Regions from separate parts of the Homo sapiens genome. Here region 2 is linked to region 1. The links are contacts of gene promoters, found by promoter capture Hi-C in human tissues and cell types (Jung and others, 2019). All regions are on one chromosome and are shown on one strand. The core of a region is centred on a gene start or on the middle of the fragment in contact, and the rest is flanking DNA. Distances in the headings are between cores, read along the strand shown.

Region 1 (5,069 bases), core at 1,297-3,796:
ACCATTAAACATATACAAACTAACAGGCTGGGCGTGGTGGCTCATGCCTGTAATCCCATCACTTTGGAAGGCTGAGGCGGGCGGATCACCTGAGGTCAGGAGTTCGAGACCAGCCTGGCCAACATGGTGAAACCCCATCTCTACTGAAAAATAAAAAAATTAGCTGGGCGTGGTGGCGTGCGTCTGTAATCCCAGCTACTTGGAAGGGTGAAGCAGGAGAATTGCTTGAACCCGGGAGGCAGAGGTTGCAGTGAGCCAAGATCCGAGCCACTGTACTCCAACCTGGGCGACAAGAGCAAGACTCCATCTCAAAAAAAAAAAAAAAAAAAAAAAAAAAAAAAAATATATATATATATATATATATATATACACACACACATACACAAACTACAAATCCTTGACAGCAGCCAATATCTTTGAAACACTATTTCATAATATTCTTGTTTACCACGTTTTCTTTGTGTGCCAGGTGATTAGTTATCAAAGCACGCTTATTATTAGCGCACACACACATACATGCACACACACAATGTAAATGAAGCGGACAGGTTTTGTTTCATTCTAAATATCTTTCTTTCTTACCTAAATGAAAAAGCCTGTTATCAACTCTACCAGTATTTTAGGTTTCCTCTAACCTGTAGTTATATTTGTAATGAGTTGAAAATAGTTAACTACTTCCATTCTTTTTTTTTTTTTTTTTTTTTTTTTTTTTTTTTTTTGAGACGGAGTCTTGCTCTGTCGCCCAGGCTGGAGTACAGTGGCGGGATCTCGGCTCACTGCAAGCTCCGCTTCCTGGGTTCACCCCATTCTCCTGCCTCAGCCTCCCGAGCAGCCGGGACTACAGGCGCCCGCTACCACGCCCGGCTAATTTTTTTGTATTTTTAGTAGAGACGGGGTTTCACCGCGTTAGCCAGGATGGTCTCGATCCTGACCTCCTGATCCGCCTGCCTCGGCCTCCCAAAGTGCTGGGATTATAGGCGTGAGCCACCGCGCCCGGCAGGTAACATTCTTTAGTTCTTTCAATCTTGCCTATGATTTAAAGAAGTGCATTCCAGTCTGCTTGCATGGTGCTTTGCTATTTCTAATACTCATTTCATGCCAAACTCTCCAACATGCTTCTACAAATCTTTTGGTGTCATTAGCTCAAAACGTAAATGGATTTTGGTTATTTTCAATGTCATAATTATAAATTTAGCTTTTTTAAGCGTGAAAAAAGCACTTTATAGGAATATATTTTACCACTTTTCCATTTGTGGGAGGTATAATTCATTATTTCTTGCTTTGGTAAGAAAAGTGAGGAAAAAGGAAAATTCATCCATTTGCAGGCTGTTTAAACTTCCAGACAGATTATAATTCATCACTCCAAACAATAAGATGGCTATTACATTTCTCCATAATTTTTATTTGCTAATAAAACGGAGGCAGAGCTTTTTTCTAAAAATAAATAAATAAACAACAACAACAACAACCTCCCCCACCCCGCACCTTCTGTGCAAATTCCTATAAAGTCTTTTATCCTGTCGCTGAGTCTGAGGGCACCCCCCCTCCCGTACTCGTCAGCTCCATCTCGCGGAGGAAAACGCTACCGGCACCCTCAGCTCCGCCCAAGGGCCGCGATCTCTACAGGGGAGATGAAAAGCCGGCGACACTACACAGGCGTGGACCCTCCAACGAGTGTTCCTTTCCTGTGGGTTAAGAGTAGGAGCGTCTGGGCAAAAGCTGGGAGCTTTCAGTTGCCAGGACCCTTGGGAAAGCACGTATTTAGATTTCATTGATAAATTCAACTGAATCCCGAGAAAAATTATACTCCATTCACTGGCATATTTAGAACGGAATTCCCATTGACCCGAGGCTCCCGGTTGAACCCTTCAAGGGAGCCAAGCGAGGACGTTCTCAGAACAGCAGTGCACCGTGTACATTGTGGGAGCCCCGCGCGATCCCCCGCAGAGCGTCCTGTAGGAACGTCACAGAGCCCAGAGAGCGTCCTGTAGGAACGTCACAGAGCCCAGAGAGCGTCCTGTAGGAACGTCACAGAGCCCAGAGAGCGTCCTGTAGGAACGTCACAGAGCCCAGAGAACGCCTGGGGACGGTCGGGGAGGCAGTTCGGGGAGGGGACGATTAAGTTCCCTCAGAGAGGAAGCCGCGGGCCGACTGGAGTCGTTTTCGTGCTCTCCGCACCCGCCCGCCGCGGGTAGCATCTTCTCAGCGCCCCGGCGCCCAGGAACGCCCAGGAAACCCAGTCCTCCTCCTAAGCAACCTGCGGCGCGGGGACGCCCGCCTTTTGCTATTATTATAAACGTGCGTGCGACTAAACCTTCGGATTTTTAGACTTTCTTCTCGCTTCCTCTGACCCAGGCTGAGGGAGCCCCCGAGGCTACTGCGGGGCGGGGCCGGGGCGGGGTGGGGCGCCCTCGCCGCCTCAGGCAGCGCCCCGGCCGCTGGCGGGAGGCGGCAGCGGCGCGGGCCGAGCGGCGCGGGGATTGGCTGCGGCGGGCGGAGACGTCAGGCTCCCGCGGCCCAAGCGGCCGCCCGGCGCGGCGCGGCGCAGTCGGCTCGAGTACTCCCCGTAACGAGGAGGTGTTCTCGGCCGTCCCACCCTTCACTGCCGTCTCCGGGCTGCGCCGCCGGAGCCGGGACGCGCCTCCGCAGCCCTCGCCGCCTCCATCCCCGCGGCCGCAGCTCCTCTCGCCGTCCGCGCGCACACCATGACGAAGAACGAGAAGAAGTCCCTCAACCAGAGCCTGGCCGAGTGGAAGCTCTTCATCTACAACCCGACCACCGGAGAATTCCTGGGGCGCACCGCCAAGAGCTGGGGTGAGCGGGCAGCAGCTGGGCGTCCGGGGCCGGCCTCGGTCCCGGGGGCGCCGGGCGCGGTCTGGTGGGAACGGAAAGGCGGGAGGCGGCTCCCAGCGCCGGGGCTCCCGACCGCCCGACCCTAACCCGGGCGGCGGCGGCGCAGTGCGGCCCCATTCATTGCTCCCCGGGCCGGCCGGACTGGCCGCAGCTCGCTCCCGAAGCAGCGGGGCCCGCGGGCAGCCCGGCCGGGCCGCGCTGGTTCCTCCCTCCCTGCTGGGAGCGGGGCGCACGTGCTGCCCGGGCCTCCCGCCCGGCGCGGCGCCGGAAGCCGGGGACCCCTGCCCGAAGCCGGGCCCCGAGAGTGCAGGAGCCGAGCCCCCGGGCCTCCTTTGTACGGAGCGCTCCGGCCCGAGAGGCCCTGGCGGAGGCGCCCGGCCCGCTGAGCGGTTCGGAGAAGCCAGACCCTGCCCCACTCCAGGGGAGAGGAAATTTCCACTCCCGCCGCTATCTTGTGACTCGTCCACGCTGCCACCCCGACCGGTCGGAAGAGTGCGACTGAGTGTTAAGTGTGGGTGTGGGTTGCTTAAACGTGTAGCGGTGAGTTAATCACAGAAGTACATTGTACAAGAAAATGCACTTGAATTTGGACAGTGAAAAGGCCCTTAAAAAGGTTGGTTCCTCCCGGATTCCTTTTTAATTACAGAGGTTTTCTTCCTTACAAATTTGCTTCTTTGGGGAAAGTAAATCCTGTCTGAACAACACAGGTTTTTTTTTTTTTTCCCGTGTCTTCAAAACAGGAGAGTGATGGTTGTATGTTAGCAGATTTTTTCTATGCGTGAGCTCTTTGTTTTAATATATTTAAACCATCTACCGTGTAGAGTAGCTTTAGGATGCCTTTTTTTCCTAAAATTGTATCAATCTCTGAATGCAGGCTAGAGCTTTTTTTTTTTTTTGCCTTTATACTTAAGTAAACTAATTTTACCTTTTTAAATCCTTTTGAAACATTTTGTTAGTGGGTCTTGAAAGACCATTTCTTTCTGAGTGGGAATAAATCTCGAGAGCTTAGAACTATTTGGGCACAACATTTTTAGGATAAGCATGGAGAAATAAGCTGTGACTCAGAAAATAAACTGTTGGTGCAGACTGAAATGGACTCCTTCAGGGTGAAAAGGCGACTTGAAGTCTTATCACAAGCTGAAAGGGGCCTTGGAGGATTTTTAGCCCAACCCCCACTTTAGAGATGAGAAAAATGAGACCCAGAGAGGTTGTGATTTTTGCCTTGTGTAAAATTACATATGCCACAAAGCCAAGAAAAGAACCCAGTTCTCCTTTAATCCTAGTCCAGCGGTTGTATTATTTTACAGATGCCTTGCCTAACTGCATGGTAATCACTCATGATTTTTATTTAAATTGCTGTTTTCTTTTGGGAACCCACTAGTGTGATGAAGAAATAAATCTTGCATCCAGACTTACATGGGAACAAAAGATGAACATTTATAAAGCTTAATTGCTTGTTTCTAGAGTGTACTAACTTTTTGCTGAAGAAATTTTTGAGTGGTGGAGAGAGATTAATTTTGATAGGCTACCTTCCTCCCTTTCTCCCTTCCCCAGTGCTTCCTCATTTCCAGAACGGAGTAACTCCACTTTGTGTTAGAATGACATTTCTTACTGCAGATAGTGCTCTTCAACCTTTGTATTGTATGACCTAGGGTAGAGATTTTATTTTATTGAGTCAATGCATTTAAATAGATAACATGCACAAATAAATAGAGAGCAATGTGTAAGGACTGTAAAACTAGTACAAGTGAAGTTGGGATTCATTTTGGAAGGATTAAGTCAATCTCTTCAAAATCGATAAGTATTACTCTTATCAGTAAATTTTTTGTTTATTGTAATAATAGTAAGTCAGTGAAGAATGGCATATATAGGTGAAAATTAACCATAATCCTGTCCCAATGTAAGGGTATCCCTCTAAGGATATGTGAGGGAGTCGTGAGAGGAGGCCGAAATCCATATTCAGCTTGCCAGGCTGTGTATCCTAGACCATGGTTGGGTCTGCCTAGAGAAGGGGCACCTTGTTCTAATTCTTGCAAAGGCAGGATCAGTTTGGAGAGCTCTGTGCCTCTGGGGATATGTCTGCCAGGAAGGATTCTTTTTTTAATTCTCTTGAAGGGACTGTATGGGCTTGCTGCCAGATGTCATCATACCTCAGAGATACTATTAACATTCTGGTATATATGTTACTGAATTGTGTATAACATTTTTTTTAAAAC
Region 2 (4,948 bases), core at 1,587-4,086, 500 kb before region 1:
GATAAAGTTGCATAGAAACAGTGGGAGAAGTAAACAATTATCCACATTTAGGTTTTCCTGACTGACACTCTTAGGTAACATCTGGCCATGAGGGCAAGATGCAATGGATGAGATTTCTCAACACCTCTGTCCATTATGACCCTAAGCATCATGTTGCCCATGGCCAGTGAACCATGAAGGACATTTTCCTTATTTCCTTTTACTTATTTTTCCTCTCAGGATCCTCTTGGTCTAGGACTATACTGGCTTTCTCTTCTTCCTGGATCTAGTCATATTAGTTGGAATTGTGACAGAATTCTGCTCCCCCAACTATGAGCCCCAGTGGTCTATAGGAAAGCTCTTGACTTCCTTAGCTCGTAGTTTTCTCTGCTACTGGAGGCTTTGGAAATGTATCCTACAGGATCTGCTCCAGGTCTTGGGACATTTGATCAGGGTGAAAATTCCCGAAGGTTAGACCTTTAAACCAAGTTATTAAACTGTTTTTTCTTTTCTTTTCTTTCTTTCTTTTTTTTTTTTTTTTTTTTTTTTTTGAGGCAGAGTCTCACTCTGTTGCCAGGCTGGAGTGCATCGGCATGATCTCAGTTCACTGCAACCTCTGCCTCCCAGGTTCAAGTGATTCTACTGCCTCAGCCTCCTGAGTAGCTGGGACTGCAGGCACGCACCACCACACCCAGCTAATTTTTGTATTTTTAGTAGAGATGGGGTTTCACCATGTTGGCCAGGATGGTCTCCATCTCTTGACCTCGTGATCTGCCGGCCTTGGCCTGCCAAAGTGCTGAGATTACAGACATGAGCCATAGCGCCCAGCCGAGAAACTTTTTTTTTCTTTGAGACAGGGTTTCACTCTGTCACCCAGGCTGGAGTGCAGTGGCACGATCATGGCTCACTGCAGCCTCAACTTCTCAGGCTCAAGCGATCCTCCCAAGTAGCTGAGACTACAGGCATGTGTCACCATGCCTGGCTAATTTTTGTATTTTTTGTAGAAACAAGGTTTCACCATGTTGCCCAGGCTGGTCTTGAACTCCTGGGCTCAAGCAATCCACCACCCACCTTGGCCTCCCAAAGTGCTAGGATAACAGGCATGAGCCACCGGGCCCAGCCGAGAAACATTTAAAAGTAGACTAAAAAGTCTCAGGCTGGGGCTATTAATGCTACCCCAAAAGATGTGATATATATGTCTAGCTTTTTATTTTCAGGAAAAGTTTCAAAACATTTACTGAAATAATAAGTGGTAAAGTTGTAAGCTCTGTTTGGAGAACTTTTAATAAGTTTAACATTTTATGTAACCTTCTAACCATTGTTGATGTTGGTGAAGTATTCCCCTCATTCGTAAATATAAACCATATGATGGGTGCCTTGTGATGCCCCAGACTTAAAGGTGTGAAATAAAAATGAACTCAAGTCTTTGCCTGAGGTGCCTGGTACCTAGTTCTCTAGTTTTGTCAATATCTGACTAAACACTCTGGTTTCTGATTGACTTTTGCCCCTGGACTTGACCTTTCTGGCACCCACATCCACACCCTGAAGAGCATGTATTGTCTGTTGTGTGGGGATACCTGTTACTGGCCAATTTGCCACAGCTTCTCAGATATCTGACAGAGGCTGATGCCTGGCCTACTCTCCTGTTATGGCTGCCTAGCCTCTGCCCAGTCCCCTTACATTAGGATGGAGCTGAGGAGGAATGGAATAGAATAACAAGATGAGTTGCTGCAAAAATACTTCAGCCTCTGAAAGTCTGTCTTTCCAAGTTGTTAGGAACTGAAAGTGTCTATTGATCGGGGAGCTGGCTGGGCTAGTGGTATAAGCTAATGATAAGACCAGGTTGGGCTGGGCATGGTGGCTCATGCCTATAATCCCTGCACTTTGGGAGGCCGAGGCAGGTGGATCACTTGAGGTCAGGAGTTCAAGACCAGCCTGACCAACATGGTGAAACCCCATCTCTACTAAAAAAAAATACAAAATTAGCCGAGCAGGGTGGCGCACACCTATAATCCCAGCTACTTGGGAGGCTGAGGCAGGGGAATTGCTTGAACCTGGGAGGCAGAGGTTGCAGTGAACCGAGATCACACCACAGGACTCCGGCCTGGGCAACAAGAGAGAAACTCCATCTCCAAAAAAAAAAAAAAAGACCAGGTGAATGGGGAATACAGTGCCTGCTAGAAGGGTGCAGTTGAAGGAATAAGTTAAGAATATGTGCCAGATTTCAAAAGCTGGAGCCAAATGGGGATGATGTGTTGCTGGAAGTCCTAGCCTAACAGAGTCTTTCAGGAAGGGCAGAGCCAAAGGTCTCAGTCAACATCAGGGTCCATTCATGTGGGAGAATGGCTAATCACAGCTTGCTAATTTCAACTACCATCTGTTATGACTCCTCAAAGCACTAAGTATGCAGTAGTTGACATATGAATGGTGTTAGGGTTGGGGGAGGGGGCCAGCCTCCTGATTTCTAATTTCTAGCTGCATATTACTACAGGAAGGGGAGTAAGACCACCACATCAGGTACCAGAATTTCACTACTGTCAACACTTTGTGTTTGAAAGAAAGCCATAGATCCCTGTGACCACTGGATGCTGAGTGACCTCACAGACAACATCAGCAAAGCAGGATTGTGTACAAACACACATTTTGTAAATATTTTGATATTTGACATTTCAAAAAAAGCATCAAAGGAGACAGCCTGGGAAAAGTTAGACTTTGTTGAGCTTTCTCAACCTTAATTTTGTATTTTGTTATTTTTTTCTATTTTAATTTCACATGGGAGTAATAATTCAAATTTGAGGCACTATAGTCTTTTCAGAGCTTAGGTCATCTAAAGATCTGAGCCTGGCCTTGTTGAGCCATGATGAGCAGATGTGGACTGAGCACACAGTCTCACACAGGCAGCTCTTACACTAGTTGAGTATTTTAATCCCTGAGGTTTTAGAATTGTCATAGCACAGGTGTGCAAGCTCCTTTCTCCCCATGGGTCAGCATCATGAATGTTCTGTCACTCTCCTTAGAGAGTTTTGCAGAAATACCACATCATATTCACCAAAACTAAGAATTCATAGTAATAGGGCTTTATAATTTCTCACACTGAAATCCCCTAATTTCTTGTCAAGAACCAAGTTGGAAAATACCACACTTCAGGGTTTTGTTTTTAACTCAAGAAGCTTCTGGTTTTCATCAGAACTTTAAAGCTCCCTCCTACCTCCAAAATAGTATTGTTAGAAAATGTAATGCTGAGACTCTGTCAGAATAAGTAGGTGATATATGCAAAATGATATGGGCAACTTAGAAAAGTGCATGTCAAGGTAAACTGCTGATAAAGGCCGGGAGTGGTGGCTCACACCGGAAATCCCAGCACTTTGGGAGGCTGAGGTGCGCAGATTGCTTGAGGCCAGGAGTTCAAGACCAGCCCAGCCAAAATCGTGAAGCCCTGCCTCTACTAAAAATACAAAAATTAGCTGGGCTTGGTGGCACATGCCTGTAATCCCAGCTTCTTGGGAGGCTGAGGTATGAGAATTGGTTGAACCCAGGAGGCGGAGGTTGTGGTGAGCCACGACTGGGCCACTGTACTCCAGCCTAGGCAACAGAGGAAAAAAAAAAAAAAGTGTTGATAAAAAATAATCATCATAATTATGGTCAGTATTGGTGCTTTGACTTTTGATATTGTTATTATCATTATTTTAAAGATTTTTTTGTCTTTCTAAATTGACTTTCATCTGGGAGCCTTAGCATCACTTCTAACTAGCCAAAGCATGTTTGATTGTAGGCCAGACTCCCCATGGAGAGGCTTCTGATCTTATTCACAGGGACATTTAACCTGGGGTTCACTGAAACCTTTGAGGAATGATGGATGAGTCATCTCTCTGCCAAAAGAAGATGATTCCTGGCATTCTATGGGGCTCCCAGTGCATTGGGATAAGGAGGCTTGGAAACTCCTCCACGGAGGCATTGACCTTGGGTAGTGCCTTCCAAGCCAGAGTGGAGAGAGTGGACCCCTCATCTTTGTCCAAAAGAGCATTAGTATAACCCCTCACCCCAACCCCACCCCATTCTCTCCTTTTTAAAAAGAGAGAAGAATATATACAAGAAAAAAATTGGAAAAAATACATCAAAATGTTAAAAATTGTTGAGATGGTATTTTATGTGGTGTTTTGCCCCCATTTAACATTATGTTGTAAACATTTTACCAAATCACTAGATGGTCTTTGAAAACATGATTTTTAATGGCTCTATTTCCATTGCACTGATACATTTTAATGTATCAGTTTTTTGTTGTTGGACATTTTGATTCACTTTAGTGTTCTACTATTTTTAAAGTTTCTAATGCATATTGGTGAATTGGCCCCTAGAAAGGTACGAATGTCTATTTCAAAACCTTGGTCTTTTTTAGTTTCTCACATTAAAATGCATGCTGCTAGGCCCCAGTGGTATTGGAAGCTCTGAGGAGGAGCCTGGGGATATGCATTTTAACCTGCCCTCCCAATTCTTCTGCATTAATGCCTGAGAACTATTGACATGCTGCATTCAGTTCAACAAATATTCAGTTGGCAAACATTTATTAGACAAAAAAAATTAGGAAACTCTGAGCTAGTATGTCTATGCCAGAATTTAACTTAAAGTCTTTTTTTGGCTTCTGATTTTTAGATTTTCCTTTAACTGTAATATGATGTAGTAAAAAGATTATTAGCTAGGGAATCAAGAAACCATATTGTACACATGAAATCACTGAGGCCCATAATGGTTCATTTACTTCCTGGTGGTCACTCAGAGATTTAATGGCAAAGGTTGAACTAGACAAAGGGCCCAGAGTCACCCAACCTTTAGGTAAGAGACAAAAGGCGCCAATGAGAAGATTCACTCCTGAGGCAACGCCCTGCCTCAGCCAAGGAGCTCTTACCTGCCCTCAGATAGGCATGCCCGTACTTCAAGACACTCTTGGGCAGCCTAGACCTAGCAAGGGGCC

Evidence for each region. The method cuts DNA at HindIII sites, captures the fragments that hold promoters and counts their contacts. A contact is called where the count stands out against the background at its distance.
Region 2: a fragment that was not itself captured here is called in contact with the fragment with the promoter of ATP1B3 in region 1 in 1 of the 25 tissues and cell types used here (hippocampus).

What each region holds. Positions count from the first base shown.
Region 1 is chr3:141,874,097-141,879,165 of GRCh38, forward strand. ATP1B3 (ATPase Na+/K+ transporting subunit beta 3) reads left to right here and starts at 2,547. Exons shown (of 7, transcript NM_001679.4): 1 at 2,547-2,814. The coding sequence starts at 2,706. RefSeq lists silencers at 1,442-1,501, 2,372-2,501, 2,772-3,341. The HindIII fragment of the contact is 8,321 bases long and covers 1-5,069 here.
Region 2 is chr3:141,370,542-141,375,489 of GRCh38, forward strand. All of the region lies in intron 2 of ZBTB38 (zinc finger and BTB domain containing 38), which reads left to right. Among named protein-coding and RNA genes, the nearest start is that of ZBTB38, 4.5 kb to the left of the region's middle. RefSeq lists enhancers at 2,367-2,416, 3,473-4,066. The HindIII fragment of the contact is 3,328 bases long and covers 1,173-4,500 here.